Regions from separate parts of the Homo sapiens genome. Here regions 1, 3, 4, 5, 6 and 7 are each linked to region 2. Evidence: promoter capture Hi-C in 16 types of primary human blood cells and fetal thymus (Javierre and others, 2016). All regions are on one chromosome and are shown on one strand. Each heading gives the region's core, a stretch centred on a gene start or on the middle of the fragment in contact. The rest is flanking DNA. Distances are from core to core; before and after follow the strand shown. Region 1 overlaps RBM20 (RNA binding motif protein 20). Region 2 holds the start of SMNDC1 (survival motor neuron domain containing 1). Region 3 has its middle 8.9 kb from the start of XPNPEP1. Region 4 overlaps ADD3-AS1 (ADD3 antisense RNA 1). Region 5 overlaps RBM20 (RNA binding motif protein 20). Region 6 overlaps XPNPEP1 (X-prolyl aminopeptidase 1). Region 7 overlaps RBM20 (RNA binding motif protein 20).

Region 1 (3,086 bases), core at 245-2,744, 390 kb before region 2:
CTGGCTGCCTGCATGGCAAACAACAAACAATACCTCAATCCCTCTGCCTGGGCACACCTCTGTATCCCAGCTCTTGGCATGGGCCTGGCTCATAGTTAGTGCTCAATACACACTGAAGAGTGAACCAAGGAAATTACTAAGCACCCTCAGTCATGCAGGAGGCCCCAAACTAAGAAACAAAACCATATTTAAAGGCAGGGATTGAAAACTCATGGGCCAAGCCCAAGTGGGCCAGGCAAGTAACAAAAGTGCAGCTGGCTAGGAGTGAGCAGTGGGGAACAGCCAGGGATACTGACGCATGGACACCCATCTTCAGGGGGACGGTTCCTACCTGACTACAGCCCAGCACTGCTGCTGAGGTTCACGAGCCCAGTGTTGTTGGGCTTTTGTTGTGTGAAATCCCCCAACTTTTAAATCTGAGCAATGAGCTTAAAAAAAAAATTCTGCATAGACCAAACAAAACACATAACTCAAAGTCATATCAAGCCTGAGCCATCTTTGGCTCTACAGGATAAGTTTTTTTCCTTAAGAAGTGGATAGTCTAAAAAAGTCCCCAACAAAACTAATCTATGATGACAGAGGTAAGAATGGGGGTTGCCTTTGGTGGCAGGGAGCTGTGGATGGGCTCCCTTTTGGGAGGCTGGAAATCTCCAGTCTTTTGGTCTGTGTGGTGGTAACAGGGATGAGCACACATTTGAGAATTCATCAAGCTGTAAAAGTAAGAGTTGCAGACTTTACTATATCTAGTAACATAAAAAGCAAAAAAGGTCCCCCAGAGTTGGACGAAACCCTCTCCAGAGTGTGCTTTAAGCTGTGCTGCTCCTTCAGCCTCAAATTCCCTTTGGCTCTCCCTCTCTTTACCCTGCTGCCACTCACTTGCCCTATCAGCCATGGCCCAGGCAGTACTTCCTCCAGGAAGCCCTCCTACTCCACCCCAGCCCACGGTTGCGCTTGGCCCATCTGGGTGCTCCTAGATCCAGCCCAGTGAGTGCCACTTCATCCCCACCTTCATCACTTCCAAGGTCTGCCACCCTTGGAGTTTCTGAGGTCCTGGGGATGAGGACTGTGCACTGCTCACTGTGGTGCAGGCATTGCACACAGTGGGCATTCAGCAGAGGTCTGACGTGACAGCTCAATCCCCTCCAGCAATCAGCAAAGGGGAGGATGCCTCCCTCCCAACCCCATCTGTATTTCCCAAGAAGTGACTGAGCACAGAATCTGGAAACATGAGATCTGGAGAGAAAAAAAAGCCAGGGGACTAGCTGAGTCCTGGGTAAGAAGTCCTGGGGGAGTAGGGTTGGGGACATGTACATCTAAAGATTTAAAATGCGATTCTCTTGCAACCAGCTATGGTGACTTCCTACTGAGGAGAGGAAATAAGGATGCGTACAATTCTTAAATCACTTCCCTGGCCAAAGAAACTCTAGCCCAGTGTGGCTCACGCTTCCGCAGGCATCAGAATCACCAGAGGCTTTGTTAAAAACAGATTCCTGGGCCCACTAAGGAGACTGATTGGCTCTGGAACAGGGCCTGAGAATTTGCATTCCTAAGTAGATGCTGATGCTGCTGGTCCAGGGACCTCCACTGTGAGTGACACTGGCTCAGGCAAGACCACTATTAGGAAGAACAAAATATCACAATGCATCAGTGTTCTTTCAGTGACTCGTTTAACAAATTTTTATTACATTTGTACTGTGTGCAAAGCCATGTAAGTGATGCAGACATAATTAGAACTAGTAGTTGCATCCTTACCCTTGGTCACCAGAAAATGGATTGCTACCTCTCAGTGCCTGTCACAAGATTTGCTGTTAAAGCAGAAAATGACACCCACTTTCAGCCACTTCCCAATGCTCAAATGATCTCAGGTTCAAACTCATGACTCTGAGAACAAAGTGTGTGAAGTCCACTCCCATCAGCGAACTCATCTGTTTCTCCAAACATTTCTGATGAAATGAATCATTTCTCTTGGGCCTCTCTTCAATACATCACCTCCTTTGTTTAACCAGAAGAGGAGTTGGTTGTAGATTTCGTACTCTGGGCTGGGCAAGGGGCGGACACATTTCCCCTGGAGTCCAAGACAGCAAAGGGTCTCCAGAAGAGTCTGAGGGTGGAGGCAGCTTTCCAGCAGACAGACAAACACACTGCTCTGAAATAGCACCCGTTCCCATCCCAGGCAGGAGCCACCTTCCGACATATTCAGTTACAAGTGAGTGCCTGGGCATTAAATCTAAATGGCCCATGCTATGGAATGCCTGGGCAGCATGCAGTTAGATTATTTATGCCCTCTGCACCTGTGGAAGTGAGGTTTAATTATTTATTTCATGTTAAATTTCCAATCCTTGGCTTCCAGTCTGCAGATGAATAAACACCTCAGTTAAACTGCAGGGGTCTTTGGGTCATCCACTCAGCAGGGGCCAGAAAACTTAAGGATTTCAGCACCTCAGGATGTCATCTCACTCACTGCCTGACGATATCGTAACAAAAATCAATCCTGTGGCAGAGTTTTAAGAATCCTTTGAAGTGACAATATCTGAAAAATTCAGTTTTGCCCTGTCAATCAAAATGTAACTCAAGAGGTAAGGACACAACCTTTGAACCACAGACATGACACTATACTCTGCTAGTATATCTTTCCTGACTTGCTATAGGAGGCCACTAGCCTGACTTACTCCAATTCTTTCCTAAATTTGGGCAAAATTCAAAATTGTTGAATTTTGAATTCAACAATTCAAAATTGTTACAACTCTGGAGTTAAACGTCAGTCAGCTCCTTGTGGTGTCTGATTAAAATGTAATACTAAGGTATGTTCTAACTGAACTAGTTGCCTTCTTATGGTATAATCCAGTTTGCTGTTAGCAAGAGGGCTGTGGTTTGGAAATTGCTATCTTAACCCAAACCATCATCAGCTCTGCACCTCAAGCAGAACTGCTCAGAATTCAAACCTCAACCCTTCTCTACTTGCCTTTTCCTGTATTAGTAACTTGAGTCCAATCTCCTGTTCCAATGAAATGGTTAGATTCCCATTTTGCTATATTTTCTTCTGTGGAGAGAATATCAGCTTTCACTTACAATTCTGGAAGGTTTCC
Region 2 (3,009 bases), core at 69-2,568:
ACTAGGAACTAAAGATGTTGGCACAGTTCAAAAGAGCCCATCTGAGAAGTGGGCCTTTTTTTTTTTTTTTGAGACGGAGTTTCACTCTTGCTGCCCAGGCTGGAGTGCAATGGCACGATCTCGGCTCACCGCAACCGCCGCCTCCAGGTTCAAGCGATTCTCCTGCCTCAGCCACCCGAGCAGCTGGGATTACAGGAATGCACCAACATGCTCGGCTTTTTGTTGTTGTTGTTGTTGTTGGTTTTTTTTTTTTGTATTTTTAGTAGAGACGGGGTTTCTCCACGTGGTCGAGCTGGTCTCGAACTCCTGACCTCAGGTGATCCGCGAGAAGTGGGCCTTTTTATGGATCCAGCAACAAACTCCCAACCTCCCAGGAAAGGTTGCTTCCTGTCATCTATATAAAACTTTGTGTCTCAGGCCTTTATTGCTTTTTTAATTGAAATAAATTATATATATATGGTTTAAAAAAAAAAGAAAAGGAAAAAGGGTAAACAGCAAAGAGGGTAATCAATAAAACATTTGGCTTCCACTCCAAACCTCTGAACAGTTTTGTGTATCCGTCCAGAAAGCGTATATATTATTACAAACATACACAAGGGGCATTTCTTTTTGAACACAAATGTGAGTATTCCTACCACTCTTTACCATTCTAGACTAACTTGGACGTTGTTCCCTATCAGGCGAGATTAACCCAACTAAATTAAAACCAAGTAGGTTTTAACAAAACAGATTTTAAAGAAATCAATCTTCTCTCCAATAGGTTATTTCTGTCACGATTTAATTAGCTTTCTGTTACTACTAAGGCTTGTATCATATAAAGTAGTGGTTCTCAGGCTGGGCGCGGTGGCTCACGCCTGTAATCCTAGCATTTTGGGATGCCGATGCAGGAGGATAGCTTGAGCCCAGGAGCTGGAGACCAGCCAGGGCAACGTAAAGAGAGCCCCCACCAACACCCCCCGCCACCCACCACCACCGCCCCGGAAAAGCAGTGGTTCTCAAACGTCAGCGGACATTGGTATCATCTGGTGAGCTTATTAAAACAAGAGTCTCTGGATTCAGGAGGTCTGGGGTGGGGCTTGAGAATTTGCATTTCCAATAAATTCCAAGCCGGAACTCCAGGAAGATAACCTGCATTCCGCGCCTGGCGAAGCCCAGCTACGCCATTTCCTTCCTAGGCCCCGCCTACTTCGTGTCCCTGACAGCCAGGGACTGGCTAGAGGGCGCGCGGAGTCACGTGAGTCGAGCGACCTCGCGCGAGAGTTTGTATTTCTCGCGAGACTTCACCGTCTCTGTCTTTTCCTCCTTCCAGTGCCCGGCGTTCCTCCCTTCCCCCTCGCCGCCGACCGAGTTCTTCCTTTTCAGACCGGGTCGCCTTGCTGTCGTCGCGGTGATTTTCCTGCTACTGCTACTGCTGCTGCTGCCACCGCCACTACCACTGGGCTCATTTGCCCCGACCCCTTCCCGCCGCCCCGCCCCCAGCCCCACACAAGGTAACAACCCCCCTGAGGGAGAGAGTAAGGCCTGGCCGGGCCCGGGTCCCTCCCGAGGTGAAGCGGAGGCCCAAGGCTGAGGAGCCCGCCTCGCCGGAGACGCCCAGGCGCTGGCCCTGGATCCCGGAGCCACGGCCGTCTCTCAGCCAGAGCTGAGCCTCGGCGGCCCGGCCGGCGCTGGCCTCCGTGCGGCGGCGGCAAACACGGCCCGCAGGGGACCGGGTCGGGTGGGGCTGGGCGCCGCGCGGCTCCCTGTGGAGCCTGCCTGTTGGAGCGCGGCGGGGCTCCGGCGGTGGTCTTGGAGCTGGCGTGTGGATTTCCACGTCCGAATGATCGAGTTGTGGCGGGCTTTGAGGTGCTGCGTGGCGGGGAGGAGAGCAGCCTGGGTCGCTGTAACTCTTAGGGGGCCTTTGCAGGCTCCCAGCCTTTGGTTGGACGGGAATTTTACGAAGGAGAAGGGTCCTCGGAAACGTGGTACATTTGCTTATAAACCATCAAAAAAGGTTAATTGGTATCTTATTTTCAGGAAAATGACTGAGCTGGATTTGGCGAAAGGCACATTCGTTAGAATGCCTAAATGGGAGAGTACCTGTGCTGTTCTTTTTGCTGAAGATAATGCACCGATAAATATTTAAGCGACTGGGCGAAAGATTTTTGTTTTGGAGAGGCACTTTTAAATACACTCTTAATTGAATAGTTCAAGTAAAGATCGTAGTTTGTGTAGTTAATTTAAAAACGCACTTGTTTGGCTTTGGAAGCATACTGTAGTGCTTAAAAATAAGTATTTGGATTGTTTTTGAAAGTTTCGACTTTTCCAACAGAGTAGTGCTTTTTAAAAAGATAACACTGATTATTGAGCCGAATTCAGCACCTACCCTGTGGATAGGAGTTAAAAGAAAATTAGAAATTTCTTTGTATCTGTATGCTTTTTTAAAGTATGGAATGTATCTCAAGTTTATAATCCTCAGAATCTGTTGCCTTTAAGTTTGTGGTTTAGCTGAAGTCTAAACTGAGAGTAAAGGTAATGGTGGTAAATTAAGCTGCAGTGTTAGAAGGAGTTAGAGGCAAAAACTGGTAATTCAGGCAGACAGGGGAGTTAGTTTTTTATGCCTTGATTTTTGGTTTAGTTTTCATGGTCTAACCCTTTTTATTTTCCCTAGATGTCAGAGGATTTAGCAAAGCAGCTGGCAAGCTACAAAGCTCAGCTCCAGCAAGTTGAAGCTGCATTATCTGGAAATGGAGAAAATGAAGATTTGCTAAAATTGAAGAAAGATTTACAAGTAAGTATGGGTAGACAATTGTACTTTTTCTCTGTTTTTCAAATTATTGCTTGAATCCCTAAGTACCCAAAGCGCCTTTTGAGGGGTTACACCCCACCCTATGTATATATGTAAATTCTGTAGGTACCATTGCTTGTAGAAGTAGGGTTGCTTCCCCAGTTCTCAGGTTTCTGTACATCAGAGTGAAATATTGTTCTTTGTTATATAAATCTTGTGTGCTTACATAATTTTTAAAAACT
Region 3 (2,809 bases), core at 260-2,759, 370 kb after region 2:
GGAGGTACTGTTCAACTCTAGCCTGTTGCTTGCAAAATTTAAGCAGGAACCGCAGGTCCAATGCTAACAGATTTTTGGGGGGGCGGGGTGAAATCTCTTCATTTTTTTTTTTTTTTGAAATGGAGTCTCGCTCTGTCGCCCAGGCTGGAGTGCAGTGGCTTGATCTCTGCTCACTGCAATCTCCACTTCCCGGGTTCACGCCATTCTCCCACCTCAGCCTCCCGAGTAGCTGGGACTACAGGCGCCCGCCACCACGCCCGGTTAATTTTTTGTATTTTTAGTAGAGACGGGGTTTCACCGTGTTAGCCAGGATGGTCTCGATCTCCTGACCTCGTGATCCACCCCCCTCGGCCTCCCAAAGTGCTGGGGTTACAAGCTCGAGCCACCGCGCCTGGCCGAAATTTCTTCATTTTTATGAGTTGGCAACTATTTTCTAAAAAATCTTAAAATACCTTGTAGGGTAAGCTAAATACATCTATGGGCTAGAATCAGCCCATGGTACCCGGAATCACCTAATTCTCCACTCTGTTCTATGTATGAATGCAGCCCTTGCTCTTGGAATTATAATTGCCCCAGTGTTTGCTAAGCACAGCTGGCTGAGAGACTATAGGGTGAACTGATCAGAGGAATAGAGGGGAATCAGAAGACCTGGGTTTCAGTCTTATTCTCTAATAAGCAGCTGTGTGGCCTTGCTCACATGACTCTCGGTTTGGTTAGAGCATCTTTATGTATAAAATGAAGGCATTGATGAAGGAATCCTTAGGGCCCCTTCTAGTTCCAAATTTCCACGTCTATGCCTTTAAATGATTGAATTACTTTATTTTGTTTGTATCTAAAATACCTAGGCTAGATACTTAGAGACTTTGGCTTAAGTAGCACTGTGGTAACAATTCTGATTTACAAGAGTGAAGGGACCCTTGAAGTGTGATTTCTCCAACGGAGTCCTTAACAGGAGAGGCTAAAGAAGGGTTCACTCTAAAATTAAATGCCACTCCACTTCCCCAAGGGCAAAAGCAATTAGGAATTTCATTTGAAATCTGGGGACAGTTGATGGAAAAAAGAAAACAAATATATTAATAAAGAGTAATAAGAATAGGCATTGCTGGTGGGAAAGGTGCAGCCACTTTAAAAAAAACCAGTTCATCAGTTATTCAAAATGTTAGGCATAGAGTTACCCTATGACTCAGAAATTCCATCCTAGGTATTTATCCAAGAAAAATGAAATCTACCTACAAAAAAACTTATGCACAAATGTTCTCGCAGCATTATTCATAACAGCCAAGAAGTAGAAACAACCTAAAAGTCCATTTGAATGGATAAGTAAAATGTGGTACATTCATACAGTGGAATATTATTCTGCAAAAAAGGAATGAAATATTGATGAATGCTACATTACAGATGAATCTTGAGAACACTATGATAAGTGAAAGAGGCCAGTCACAGAGCATGATATGTTGTAGGATTTCATTTATCTGAAATGCTTGGAAGAGGCAACTCTATAGAGATAGAAAGCCCATTAGTGGTTGCCTGTGACTGGGGAGGATGGGAGGAAAGAAGAGTGATGCTAAAGGATATGAGATTTCTTTTTGGGGTGATAAAAATGTCCTAAAATTGGCTGGGCACACTGGCTCATGACTGTAATCCCAGCACTTTGGGAGGCCAAGGCAGGAAGATCACCTGAGGTCAGGAGTTTGAGACTAGCCTGGCCAACATGGTGAAAACCTGTCTCTACTAAAAATACAAAAATTAGCCGGGCATGGTGGCAGACGCTTGTAATCCCAGCTACTTGGGAGGCTGAGGCAGGAGAATCGCTTGAACCCGGGAGGCAGAGGTTGCAGTGAGCCGAGATTGCACCACTGCACTCCAGTCTGGGCAATAGAGTGAGACTCTGTCGCAAAACAAACAAACAAACAAAAAAAACAAAACCCTAAAAGTGCCTGTGGAGATGGTTGTAAAACCCTGAATATAATAAAAGACATGAATTGGACACTTTAAAGAGGCAAATTGAATGGTAATGAGAACTAACATCTCAATAAAGCTGTTTAAAAAAGAAAAAGTAAGGGTAAAAAGGTTATTAAATTGAAGGAGTAGATGAATAAAACATTAAACATAGGTTAATGAGAAACTAAGGAAAAGAATATATATGACTAGGTTATATTACTAAGATATCTTTTAGAACTACTCATTGTATTTTGAGAAGGGGCTGCTTTTAGCAGGCAAATTGTGATCAGGGAAAGGGATGATTAACAATAATAAATAGTGATTTTCATTCTTGGATATGGTCCTAGGCACTAATTGTTTTTCTGAGTATTTTTATGCACTGTTTTGCAGCTCAGGCAGCCTGTTACTCTGTTTTTCAGCTCCAATTGTTTGAGTTTGGCAGATTTGAGTTAGTAATGAGGATGCATTATGGCAAGGGACACTCATGACATCAGTACACACAGGGCTGCCAGAATTCTGGGGGCTCTGCCAAGCCCCAATGAGTTGCCCCATGCCTTGCAAAATCCAAATTGCAAAACAAGAAGAGTGAGGACTTGCTAGCTGGTGTTAAGTTTGGGGGATTCTATGTTTAGGTGCGAAAGGTGAAACCATTCTGACAAGAAGTAGTTACCTTAGCTTAATTGCAAGGGCAATTTCAGTGAAGTTGAAATCCAGGCCATGTTTGTCAGATTCTCCAGGAGGAGGAGTCACAAATTTGGACATCAATAGTGGTCTGGCAGGTAAAGTAGAACAGTGTAAGTGGTTAAATGGAGGGCTCTCTGTCCCATTTCATGGGGCCAGTCCCTGCGCTGTTCATGTTCCTTGTTAC
Region 4 (3,180 bases), core at 246-2,745, 340 kb after region 2:
TAGGATAAGTCTGAGCTTTGTTGGAGAAAAGAAAATGGGGCATACCTGCTGTCAAGGTGCTGCCCTAATCCTCTCACATGGAGATGTGAAGTCAGAGAGATCTGCACGATGCATTGCATGGATAGAGCAGCCATTCCATGCCTTTATGTGTTAGGCAGTGTAAATACTTGATATAATTTAATCCTCATAGTACTCATACTTTATATTGTTATCCTTATTTTGTACAAGTGGAAACAGAGGCTCAGAGAGCGGTTCATTCACTGCTGGTCATGCAGCTAGCAAGTGGCAGAGCCAGGATTCAAATTTAAGTCTGCCAGATTTCAGATCCTGTTCCTTCTCTCCTCCACCACCCTGACATGAGTCAGTTTTCTGCCAGTCATCTTTAAAGAAACATTCTTCTTGTCCTCCACTTAAGGGACAAGGACTATGTTCTCATCCCCAGTGATAGATTTCTTGTGGTTCAGATGGGTAACCAGATTACTCCTGGTACTCAGGGTTTCCTATCAATAGTGGGGCATGTCAGCAAGCCTTCTTTTTCATCCTCTTGTCCTTAGGAGGGCAAATTCTCCCCTGAGGCATGCCTCCCAAATCCCTAGGCGTCTTTTACTGGAGTGCTAGGTGAGTCCTCAGTACCACCAAAGCCCCCTAAGACACTTCAGTCTCTTAGTGACTTGAGAGACCCCATTTCCCCCCAGGCTCTCTGTGTTTGGTGTCTCCACCAAAGAAAGGAAGGGAATAAAAAACCCTTCCAATTAAAAGAACTTTCCAGGTGCAGGGAACAAAATCCAGGCAGATTACCGCTCAGGGCAGGCTAGCCGCTAGCTTTTGCAAAAGTCTAAAAGGAGCCCACTTATGGCACAGAGCAGAGGGAAAGACACTTCAAACTGTAAAAAGCAAAATGTTGTTAAAGGGCTATGAAAACAATCTATTTAATTTATTGGAACATGTTTTTCTAGCAGCTTTGAGTTGGAGCTGTGATTGCCTCCTGCAGGGATTTGTGACCTCATCCTTCCTCCCCCACCCTCCCCAAATGTAACTATAGGGTTTTCCCGTCATAACCTGACATATGGTTTGCAGCAGGAAGTGCGAAATCCCAGGAATGAGTAGAGACTCAGGTTTCAGACTCTAGAGAGACTCAGGTGAGCTGCAAGGAATGGCCTTTGTTTCATATAAAAACAGAGTTGAAAAGAGCGTGGTTGGTGACCTCCTGGTTTGGAATGAGGTAATTAATTCTCCAGAAACTCCCACCAGTTTCCTGGGCAACAAAATCAATGTGTTGTTGCTAGAAAAACTGGGAATAATAAATTGGTTAAAATTACAGATTTCCTTTAAAAAAAAATACAGACTTCTTCCTTACCAACCCAAATATAAAACAAAACAAAACAATTCCAAAACACACACAGACACACACACTCACACACACACACACACACACACACAATTCCTCTTTACCCTTTCACTCACCCTCACTCTTTAAAAAAAAATTAAGTTTATTGCTATCTAAATATTATCATGCTTGAGAAGATAAGAAAAGAGAAAGGTGGATCAAATCCCACGCAGAATTGTACACAGAACAAGACAGTTTTTGAATATTTTTTAGGCCAAATATTCTCACAGAGTGGGGTGATAGTAGGGTCAGCATATAGTATCAGAATTTCTGGGGGTGTCATAGGGAGGGGACCAGTATGAGGTCTTTGTTTATCAAAAAGCATTGAAGATTTCTTTTTTAAAAGACTGGAAAACTGCTTAGGCTGCCTTAGCTTTTTATCCATTTAAAAACCAAGTAAAGTTTTTGTTTTGTTTTGTTTTTGATGACCAATTTAAGAACTAGGTGAATGGTGAGGTCTCAGAAATCCTACTTACAGCATTTTCTGAACTCCTAGTTGAAATCAAAATCTATTTTTTTCCCCTCCCCTTCTCCCTGGGCAGCTGGGAATCTCTCATTGCATGGCCTGAGAACACAGACTCCACAGTCAAACTGCCCGGGTTTTACCCTGACTCTCTCTCCCTGCCATTTCTCATCAAATTTAAGATACTGTTGCTGTAAGATGAAATATTATTTTAAGCATCACCAAAAAAGAAAAAAAGTGGTTAATTAAATTATGACACAATGCTAACGTGCCATCAGTTGTAGGACACATTCTAATTTCAGTGATGTTAAAATGTGACAAAAATTATTTTAGAATTGATGAACTATGGTGTTTGTTTAGGAAATTTAATCTTTCCCTAACTTGACATCTCTCTATTTCATCTTTTCATTTAAAAAATGGGAATAATAAGGGCTGGGCTCGGTGGCTGACACCTGTAATTCCAGCACTTGGGAGGCTGAGGCAGGCAGATCTCAAGGTCAGGAGATCGAGACCATCCCGGCTAACATAGTGAAATCCCATCTCTACTAAAAATACAAAAAAATTAGCCGGGCGTGGTGGCGGGTGCCTGTAGTCCCAGCTACTTGGGAGGCTGAGGCAGGAGAGTGGTGTGAACCTGGGAGGTGGAGCGTGCAGTGAGCCGAGATTGCGCCACTGCGCTCCAGCCTGGGCGAAAGAGCAAGACTCGGTCTCAAAAAAAAAAAAAAAAAAAAAGGGAATAATAATGTACCTACCTCAGGGTTGTTGTGAGGATTCAAGAGTCGGTTCATGTAAAATGCTCAGAACATTCCTTGGAACATAATAAGTGCTCAATTAGCTATTGTTATTATTCACTATATCCCACTCAAGTCGACAAATACTTGCTCAGTTGAAGTGTGGAGGTTTTCCTGGTTGTCATTCTACTAGGGGAAAAAAACAGCACAGTAACACCCACATATTGCAAACCATGATTTTAGAGAAATAAAAGCAGGCCAAATTGGGAGGATGGTAACAGATCGTTCCTCTCTGCCTTGGTCTCTGGGTGAGTTTTTCAAGTACACCCTGGTTTCCACAGAAAAGCGCCTGACTCCTCTGGTGATTGTTCTGTTATGGGAAGAGTTTTTGCATTCATGATGCTCTTGTGGATTATTTTTGCCAAGTTTTTTGTTGCTCTAAGCACTTCCTGGAGCCACCCCAGCCATAGGAGGATTCTGACCTCAGAGGGATGCCAGGCGGGGTTTGATGCAAACAATCCATGCTGTGCATGGGCCAGATGGTTCCACACAGCAAACACTATTATTTCATTCACAAAAAGTCAAAAACAAGCTGATTT
Region 5 (2,796 bases), core at 154-2,653, 370 kb before region 2:
AGGCCAAGTTTCCTGCCCAGGTCTCCATGGCTCCTCAGCAGAGTATCCTGGATTTGAACCGAGAACCTGCATATTAAACCACTGCAGAGCCTCTTTATCTCCAAGTGTGGGTTGCAGCAAAGCATGAACCCATCTGTGCTCCAGGCCTGAATGAACATAAACCAAGTCATTCCAAAAGTCTCTGTATTGCTGAGCTTGAACTTTCAGACTCCTGGACCAGTGCTCCCTCTACTGCAGCATATCATGAAAATGTCACATCTTCATTAGATATGAAGTGAATCTACCACCAAACATTCTCCTATTGCCCACTGCTTCTGTAATAAAATTTAGACCTAGAAAAATCTTTCAAGGTCATCAGGCTCAACACCTTTATATTCCAGATGTGGAAACCAAATCTCCAAGTCTCAGAGAAGCCAAGTTCATTGATCAAGGGAGTGGGTGGCAGGATGAAGAGTAGACCCCAGACTCCCCCGGCCTTGCACACTCAAGAGTGCTTTCCAAAACCAAACTGTACCTTCCCAGAAATGAACAATAAGGGAGAAATCACACAATAGGATGCTTTCCATGGGTGTCCTTAACTCAGGAGATCCTTTCTCTGATGATGCTGCAGTGGGCATGATGCTGCTTTAATCAAAGTGAACCAAATTATGAGAAGATCATGGTCTCAACATGCTATGAGCTCAAGTACGTCTTGAAACAGAATTCCATTTAGTGACACCCTCATAGCCACTTAATGGCAAAGTAATGTATTTAAATGCCTTGACACCTAAACATTTTTTTGCATAATTACATTTAATCTTTGCTCTTTGGTTAGGTTTTTATAGGGATTTGTTTTGTGTGGATAAACTTTTGAGTACTCCCATAGCTCTATTTCCCCACATTGTCTATAAGAAAGATAAGGTTGAAAGAAATCCTTTCTTTTCCTTAATATTATTTATCCCAGTTTATGTTTTATAGTTACCTATTTTTTTGGTTTATGTTAGTTTTCCTCACTAGACAGGAAGCTCCATCCATAAGAATTACCTATTCCATTCATCACTCAGCACCTAAGACAGCACCTAGCACATAATAGGTGTTCAGTAAATACTTCTTTCAGTTGAATGAATTAAAAATGAAGTTCCCCGAGGGTTAAGCTGTGAAGGAGCAACATCTAGAGGGTGCAAATCCCCTCTGACTCGAGTAAAACAATTCAGAAAGCCATTTTACCAGCCTGGTTGGTATCATTATTTTTAGAGAGATGTCTACAACATGAAGACAAGTAACATGAGATACATGCCCATCGAACACACCAACTATCTAAGATCTTCCGTTTTATCAGAAATTTGGAAAAATTAAACAATATGTAACACTCCAGTTTTCCCAAAATACCATTTAGCACCAAATAGTTCTGTGCTATGGTTTGAATATTTGTCCCCTTTAAGATGAGGCCTTTGGCTGGGCGCGGTGGCTCACGCCTGTAATCCCAGCACTTTGGGAGGCCAAGGCAGGCAGATCACGAGGTCAGGAGATAGGGACCATCCTGGCTAACACGGTGAAACCCCATCTCTACTAAAAATACAAAAAATTAGCTGGGCGTGGTGGTGGGCACCCGTAGTCCCAGCTACTCGGGAGGCTGCGGCAGGAGAATGGCGTGAACCCAGGAGGCAGAGCTTGCAGTGAGCAGAGATGGAGCCACTGTACTCCAGCCTTGGTGACAGAGCTAGACTGTGTCTCAAAAAAAAAAAGAAAAAAGAAAAAAAGATAGGGCCTTTAAGAGGTGACTGGGTCATAAGGGCTCTGGATTAATCCATTTATAGGTTAACATATTCATAGTTAATGGATTAATGGGTTATTATGAGAGTGGGACTGGTGGCTTTATAAGAGGAGAGAGGCCTGAGCTAGCACGCTTAGCCTCCTCCACCATGTGATACCCTATGCCACCTCGGGATTCTACAGAGTTCCCACCAGCAAGAAGGCCCTTACCAGATGCAGCCCCTTGACCTTGGACTTCTCAGCCCCCATAACTATAATAAATAAATTTTGGTTTCTTTAAAAATTATCCTGTTTTAGGAATTCTGTTAAAAGCAACAGAAAACAGCCTAAGACAGTCTACAAGTATCTATCTGATTGCAGCCTTACTTGAAAATTTTAAAATTCTAAAGTGACTCTGAGATTTTTTAAAAACATTAATATTTTCAAGCTACATATATTTTAAACCTCTTTATAGCCTCTTGCATCCACAAATTTAAAAACCAATATTGGATTTGAAGCAAAAAAAATAGCATTTGTTGCTTCCAAAGAAGCCAAGTTGGATTATATCAACGATACAGGGACAAGAACAAATAGGTTTGTCACAACCAAGGAGACTGCAAATCAGAAAAGTACAAGAAGTTGTTCTTCCTAATTGATAGACACTTTGTGAATTTTGAAATTTGTGAATGAAGTAATATAAAGAAAAACTCTACAATTGCAGAATGTCATACAGAAGAAAAACTACCATATGAACAGTTTGAAATGTGCAGGAACGCAAGTGTAAGAAGTACTAAGTGATGTTGCCCCATAAATTCTGAGAGCGATAGTTAGAATTAGCATTTCATCTTAGAGCAAAGTTTCTCTTCCACTGTTTTTTTCCTTTTATGCATGTTGTCTAAACGTCTCTGCCTTGGTTATAATTGTTTCGTGCATTGTTTAACTTTATAGGCAATAAAAGATACCACTTCCAAATATCTATTTTTCTCTCTCTGTGAGATGCAGGGCACTTATCTGTCAGCGCCGTCAGGAAGTGGGAACCAGCAGAGCGAGGACACTGGGAATTTC
Region 6 (3,206 bases), core at 427-2,926, 390 kb after region 2:
CACCACGCCCAGCTAATTTTGTATTTTTAGTAGAGATGGGGTTTCTCCATGTTGGCCAGGCTGGTCTTGAACTCCCGACCTCAGGTGATCTGCCCGCCTTGGCCTCCCAAAGTGCTGGGATTACAGGCATGAGCCACTGCGCCTGGCCATTACCATTTTTTTTTAAGGTAGTAAGTTAGAGAATTACAACTTTTTTTTTGTTGTTTGTTTTTTTCGTTTTCCATTTTTGTCAGAGTGGTGGTGGTGGAGAAGGAGATAGGTTATTATGGAAAATGTTCTCTATTTCTCTAATATAGTCCTTCATTATCTTAGAAATTAGCTTTCAATTTTGATCATAAGATTGCAAAATGAGAAAAGCTTGTAATATATTATTGTCCTTTATAAATTGAGTGTGCATTTAGGAAAGTCTTTTTGGGAAATATTTCTTGGCTGTCCCTTCTCCCCAGAACTGGTTAATTGTCTGATGGGTTGCCAGAAACCTGAATTCTGAAAAGTGGTGTATTACTGTATTTCTATCCCAGTAAGCCAGTACTGCTCTAACGACTACTAAGGAGAACCATGTGTTTTTTTTTTTTTTAGCTGACTGAAAAATTGATCTCTTGAAGTACATAAGAAACCATGCCCGTCTAATCTCTGTTTGGAAGATCAGTGCTATAATTGCATGCAATTTTAGATCCTTTTTCTTTAAAAAATATAGATGTATCCAACACATTTTGGACCATATTAGGAGGTAGCAGAGGAAGGAGGAAAAAGAGAAAGTAAAGAAAGGAAAAAAGTGATGGAATCATTAAACTTAGAGTTGGAAGATAACTTCTTTTTCTTTTTGTAATGTATGAGGAAATAGAGGTTAGGTAGCTTCAGTTGCCTGAGGTTGTAGATCCCAGCTGGAAACTGGAGCTCACTTGTTTTGCTTCTGTTGGTCTTAGAACACTTTAAGGCTCTATTATGTCCCCCAGCTAATATGGTGTAATAGAGCATGGACTTGGGAATTGCATAGACCTTGAGTCCCGGTTCCTGATGAACCAGCTGACTTTGGGCAAGTACTTAACTCCTTTTAACTCCTGTTCCTTTATGTGTAAAATGAGAATAGTGAAACCTCCCTTGGAGGATTGTTGTGAGAATTAGCCACTAATGTATGTAAAGCCCTTAGCGTTCCCTCAGCTGTGCAACAGAGAAACAAACCACTACCTCTAAAGCTATTGATGCTGGAAGAGCATCTGTGCCCGTGTTAAGATGCTGAAATTGGAGTAAACTGGCCCCTTCCATTCTTATAACGAGACTTGGGAATTCCAGCTGGTGCTTCAGATCCAGATTCAAATATTTCTTGAGCTCCTGCAGTGTAATAGATGCTGTGCATGGTGCTTTCACACACATTATCATGTTTAATTTGCCTGGCCACCAGTGAGGTAAGTATGGTGTGCTTTTCATGTACAATCAGTGAAAAATCTTGTTTGTGATAAAGGCTGAAGGTGTGGGAACTTATTTCTAAAAGCAGACCTGTATATGCAAGACTTTTAAGTGAGTCATTCTCTGTAAGGCATAGTTTGAAAATACCTGGCAGTGTATGGGCTAATGTTTCATCGTGGACTAGGCCTGTTGCTCTTGGCTTCCTACTTTGCTGCATACTTTGCTTAGCTCTTGGCTGTTTCTAACATTTCTGAAAAGTCATAGGATGTGGAATGAGCAGATGTCATAATACAGCACCTTGCAAGAGCCTATCTGTCACTGAAGATTCATTACTGTTCATTGAGACTGAAAAGATCATAGATCCAATGTTGTGAATTTGATTTAGCCATCTTTGAGTGAGCATATGTATATGTTAATTGTAGATACATGGATACAGAGATGACATCATCCCTGCCTTCCGGAGAAGTGGTATACACACCTGTTTACACAATTTATCACATTGCATTTATGGTTAGTTGTGTGTCTAACTCTAATAACATTAAACATTTACATGACATTTGTTATGTGCCAGGTACTGTTTCTAAGTGCCATATGTATAGTAACTCATTTACTCCTTATACAAATTATGAGGGTCATTAGCTACAACTTTCACTTCCTCCATCTTGGCTGCCTTTTCAACCAGTGCCACCTCAATGGCTAGGACTTATATAATTGCACCAACTTTGTTCTCTCCTTAGCTCCAGCTGCTCACTCATTCAATCACTTTCCATCACCTGTTTTCCTTGTGGGTACAGCTGCCTCAACCACCAGGGCCCACTGTATTCACTTCAGTGGTAGCTGCCTCACTGCCTCAGCCATTGCCTGTTGCTATCTTCTTCACCTTCACTGTTGCTGCCACTGCCCCTTACCACATCCTAACTATTGGTTATGGTATTGGGACTTCTTTCATCATGTCTAATATTGATGATAAAGAAGTAGCTGCATTGCACCCAGAACATGAATGTGATCGGCCTGAAGGATGAGGAAGTAGGAAGAGGGAAAGTGTTGAGTGTTGATGGGGGTAGGTAGCATTGTGGAGGGGAGTGTCAGTGAGACTGATAAAGCTGATGATTCTGTGGGGGTCTGATATGCCAGTCACCAGGGGAAACGTGATGATGTGATGGTGGTAGTGATGAAGATCAGAATGTGGGAATGAGGAGGCAGGTTGTGATGACCAGGAAGCAGAGGATGTTTTTGAACAGATCCAGTTTGTTTTTGTTGGTTTTTAGTTTGCAGTTGAAGATTTTGTGCTCATGATTGGTTGTGTTAACGTTATTGATGAAGTTAGTGACTGATAATATTGATACTACAATCAGCACTAAACACCCAGTCAGTGCCACCAAAATCCTTACGTCAGAATGTACCTGAATGGAAGGCAGAGTCTATAAAGAAATAAATGATCTTGAAAGAAAGTATATTAGACTCTTATATTTTTGCATTTTAAAACTCCTGAAGCCAAGGCTGTACTCCAGACCAGTTAAGTCAGATGTTTCCCGGATAGTCCTAATGTGCAGCCAGTGTTGAAGTCCTGCTCCTAAAGAAAGCTTCATTTTTGCTTGACTGTTTTTAAGAATGATAACTTGCTCAGAAATATGGTTTGAAAACACAATAAATCTATTCTGAAGCTCCTGAAAGATATCAGAGTAAAATTTTTAGATGCTGGCAAGCTTGGGAGATCACAATGGGCTTTATTTTGAACCCCCAGTGGAGGTGTTGACATATAAACTTGGATCAGACCAGATACTTCCGATCCCTTTTTC
Region 7 (2,761 bases), core at 139-2,638, 350 kb before region 2:
TGAATCACAAAACTCAGACCCTGAAGCCCATATAGTTCATATCCTAGGTGGGCTCAGAGAGGGAACAAATGCCACCACATAACAATCACTAAAGTCAGTATTTTTACCTATAGTTCACTTAGTCATTCAACAAATATTTAGTGAGCATCTTCCAGGTGTCAGGAATTGCTCCTAGGCCCTGGGGGGTAAATCACTGAGTACAACTCTCCTGCCATTGGAGAGCTTATGTGGTGGGGGCAGGGTGAAAGGAGCCATAATAGACAGTAAGAACATAATAAATGAGTAAATTATATAATTTGTCAGAACAGCGGTCCCCAACCTTTTCGGCACCAGGGACCAGTTTTTTGGAAGACAATTTTTCCATGGACTATGGTGGCAAGGGATGGTTTAGGGATGATTCCAGCATATCACATTTATTGTGTACTTTATTATTTATTGTAATATATAAGGAAATAATTATACAACTCACCATAATATAGAATCAGTGGGAGCCCTGAGCTTATTTTCCTGCAACTAGATGGTCCTATCTCGGGGTGATGGGAGACAGTGACAGATCATCAGGCATTAGGTTCTCATAAGGAGCATGCAACCTAGATCCCTCCTATGTGCAGTTCACAATAGGATTTGCCCTCCTATGAGAATCTAATGCCACCACTGATCTGACAGGAGGCGGAGCTCAGGCAGTAATGCGAGTGATGGAGAGCAGCTGTAAATACAGATGAAGCTTCGCTTGCTCGCCCACCGCTCACCTCCTGCTGTGTGGCCTCGTTCCTAACAGGCCACAGCCTGGTACCCGTCCATGGCCTGGGGGTTGGGGATCCTTATGCTAGAAGACAACAAGTGGAAGAAATAAAGCAAAATAAGACAGCCTGGATGGGAAGAGATGGGTTCAAGATGCAATTTAAATAGGGTGGTTGGAGTAAGTCTCCCTGAGGAATCGTGAGCAATCACTTATTTTCCAGGCAGCTTCTTTTTTTTTTAAGCTGCCACAAGTCGACTGTCATTATTACTGCTATAGTTAAACTGTCATTATTGCAAATGTCAAGGCAATAATAAAGCAGTATCTTGGTGTTGCTGTTGTCTTGATTTGTGTTATTTTAGAAATTGCTTGAGGCCAAGCATGGTCACTCACACCTATAATCCCAGCACATTAGGAGGCTGAGGCAGAATGATCGCTTGAGCCCAGAAGTTTGAGACCAGACTGAGCAACATGGTGAAAACCGGACTCTACAAAAAAATACAAAAAAAATTAGCCAGGCATGGTGGTGCACACCTGTAGCCCCAGCTCCTTGGGAGGTTGAGGTGGGAGGATCAGTATGCACTCTAGTCTGGGTGAGAGTAAGGCCCTGTCAAAAAAAAAATTAAAAAAAAAAGAAGAGGAAGAAGAAGAAGAAGTGGAAGAGGAAGAGGAAGAAGAGGAAGGGGAAGGGGAACGGGAGGAAGAGGAGGAGGAAGAGGAAGAAGAGGAAGAGGAAGAAGAAGAGGAAGAGGAAAGGAAAGAAAAGAAAAGAAAAAAAAGAACAGAAATTGCTTGAAATAGGCAGATGCTAGCTTAGGGCTTAGAAACTTTTTTTTGAGATGCAGAAATGTATCATTGAAAGCATTGATGCAAGCAGGTTTTAAGGAGTGTTCCTAGTGGTCATTTCCACCATTTATCCTATTTGGATCAAATCTCTCAGAAATTCAGCCTGGAAATTGCCTGCACACAATCTGGCCTCTGGCTGGAGATGACAGCATGAGACAAAAAGCTGGCTTACATGAGGACACATGTATTCAGTACTGCTTTCCTACCAAGGCATGTTCACCTGTCATCTCATTGACTGTTTGAACAAGCCCCATACCCTGGTCCCCCTTTAACCCATGTGGACTCTAAGAAGCTAAGTGCTACCTCTGGTCACACAGTGGCTTGAGAGTGGAGCCCAGAGCAGAGCTGAAGTTTATGACTTTCCGCATTTATATTCTTCTTATATGGCCTCTCTGAACATAAATGTCTGTCTAGCCCTTTCAGACAGGCAGTCCAAATAAAACATAAGCTGGAGAAAACCAAGCTTTGGCGTCACATCAGGTCTCACCCATGAGAGCATCCTGACTAGTATTTCTCATCACCAAGTCAGTTAGATTGAAAGTTCAGTTGCAGTTAAGTTCCTCATTCCCAGATATTCAACACACTATGTGCCAGGGGCTCTGCTAGGTGATGAGGATAGCAAAGGTGAGTGGCAGTGGCCTTGACTGCAAGGACTTTGCATGGTCTTTATGGGAGACAAGCAAGAGGAGAGCACGGACAAATGCTACTATGGGAGCCACAGACAATTACAGGAAGAGGGTCACTCAGCCCTCCTTCCTGCTTAGGGTTGGGGAAAGCTCCCTGGAAGAGGTGAGGTCTAAGCAGAATTCAGAATGTTCTAGTTGAGGAGAGGGAAAGAGGGCAGCCAAGAGAGGACAGGAAGTTCTGGAGCTGGAGGGCTGAGTGGGGCAGATCTGGAAAGGCCTTCCATGCAGTCTGAACCTTAACCTAAAGGCCAGGAGAAGCCACAGCAGGGCTTCCAGCAAGCAGAGGACAAGGTCAAGACTGTGCTGCTGCAGAGAAAGAAGGAGTGGAGCCCAATCCAGCAGGAGGCCGGGGGTAGAGCTGGGAGGCCTGAACTAAGGGGACGGCAGTGGGCAGGGACAAGGAGGAGGAAATTCAAACGAAAAAGAGGAGGGCACGCAACTTGGAAGGAGTCAGAAGGCCTGGCTCTGAGCCCGGGATCTCCGATCATTG

Evidence for each region. Contacts are between HindIII fragments. The CHiCAGO score rates a contact against its expected background, and 5 or more counts as called.
Region 1: a fragment that was not itself captured here is called in contact with the fragment with the promoter of SMNDC1 in region 2 in 4 of 17 cell types (M2 macrophages, M0 macrophages, M1 macrophages and 1 more); the score reaches 14.6 in M2 macrophages.
Region 3: a fragment that was not itself captured here is called in contact with the fragment with the promoter of SMNDC1 in region 2 in 3 of 17 cell types (neutrophils, monocytes and naive CD4 T cells); the score reaches 10.8 in neutrophils.
Region 4: a contact is called between a fragment that was not itself captured here and the fragment with the promoter of SMNDC1 in region 2, in 1 of 17 cell types (neutrophils). The highest score is 6.7, in neutrophils.
Region 5: a contact is called between a fragment that was not itself captured here and the fragment with the promoter of SMNDC1 in region 2, in 15 of 17 cell types (megakaryocytes, fetal thymus, M2 macrophages and 12 more). The highest score is 23.1, in megakaryocytes.
Region 6: a fragment that was not itself captured here is called in contact with the fragment with the promoter of SMNDC1 in region 2 in 10 of 17 cell types (neutrophils, monocytes, naive CD8 T cells and 7 more); the score reaches 16.6 in neutrophils.
Region 7: a fragment that was not itself captured here is called in contact with the fragment with the promoter of SMNDC1 in region 2 in 10 of 17 cell types (M2 macrophages, megakaryocytes, M0 macrophages and 7 more); the score reaches 12.9 in M2 macrophages.

What each region holds. Positions count from the first base shown.
Region 1 is chr10:110,694,486-110,697,571 of GRCh38, reverse strand. The region is part of intron 1 of RBM20 (RNA binding motif protein 20); the gene reads right to left. Among named protein-coding and RNA genes, the nearest start is that of RBM20, 52 kb to the right of the region's middle. The HindIII fragment of the contact is 3,322 bases long and covers 1-3,086 here.
Region 2 is chr10:110,303,229-110,306,237 of GRCh38, reverse strand. SMNDC1 (survival motor neuron domain containing 1) reads left to right here and starts at 1,318. Exons shown (of 6, transcript NM_005871.4): 1 at 1,318-1,490; 2 at 2,651-2,770. The coding sequence starts at 2,651. RefSeq lists a silencer at 1,487-1,806. The HindIII fragment of the contact is 6,895 bases long and covers 1-3,009 here.
Region 3 is chr10:109,930,991-109,933,799 of GRCh38, reverse strand. No RefSeq gene overlaps it. Among named protein-coding and RNA genes, the nearest start is that of XPNPEP1, 8.9 kb to the right of the region's middle. The HindIII fragment of the contact is 4,489 bases long and covers 1-2,809 here.
Region 4 is chr10:109,959,629-109,962,808 of GRCh38, reverse strand. All of the region lies in intron 2 of ADD3-AS1 (ADD3 antisense RNA 1), which reads left to right. Among named protein-coding and RNA genes, the nearest start is that of XPNPEP1, 38 kb to the right of the region's middle. The HindIII fragment of the contact is 8,042 bases long and covers 1-3,180 here.
Region 5 is chr10:110,676,254-110,679,049 of GRCh38, reverse strand. All of the region lies in intron 1 of RBM20 (RNA binding motif protein 20), which reads right to left. Among named protein-coding and RNA genes, the nearest start is that of RBM20, 33 kb to the right of the region's middle. The HindIII fragment of the contact is 7,368 bases long and covers 1-2,796 here.
Region 6 is chr10:109,911,457-109,914,662 of GRCh38, reverse strand. The region is part of intron 2 of XPNPEP1 (X-prolyl aminopeptidase 1); the gene reads left to right. Among named protein-coding and RNA genes, the nearest start is that of XPNPEP1, 10 kb to the left of the region's middle. RefSeq lists enhancers at 772-1,427, 1,774-1,823. The HindIII fragment of the contact is 2,633 bases long and covers 360-2,992 here.
Region 7 is chr10:110,658,469-110,661,229 of GRCh38, reverse strand. The region is part of intron 1 of RBM20 (RNA binding motif protein 20); the gene reads right to left. Among named protein-coding and RNA genes, the nearest start is that of RBM20, 16 kb to the right of the region's middle. The HindIII fragment of the contact is 1,324 bases long and covers 727-2,050 here.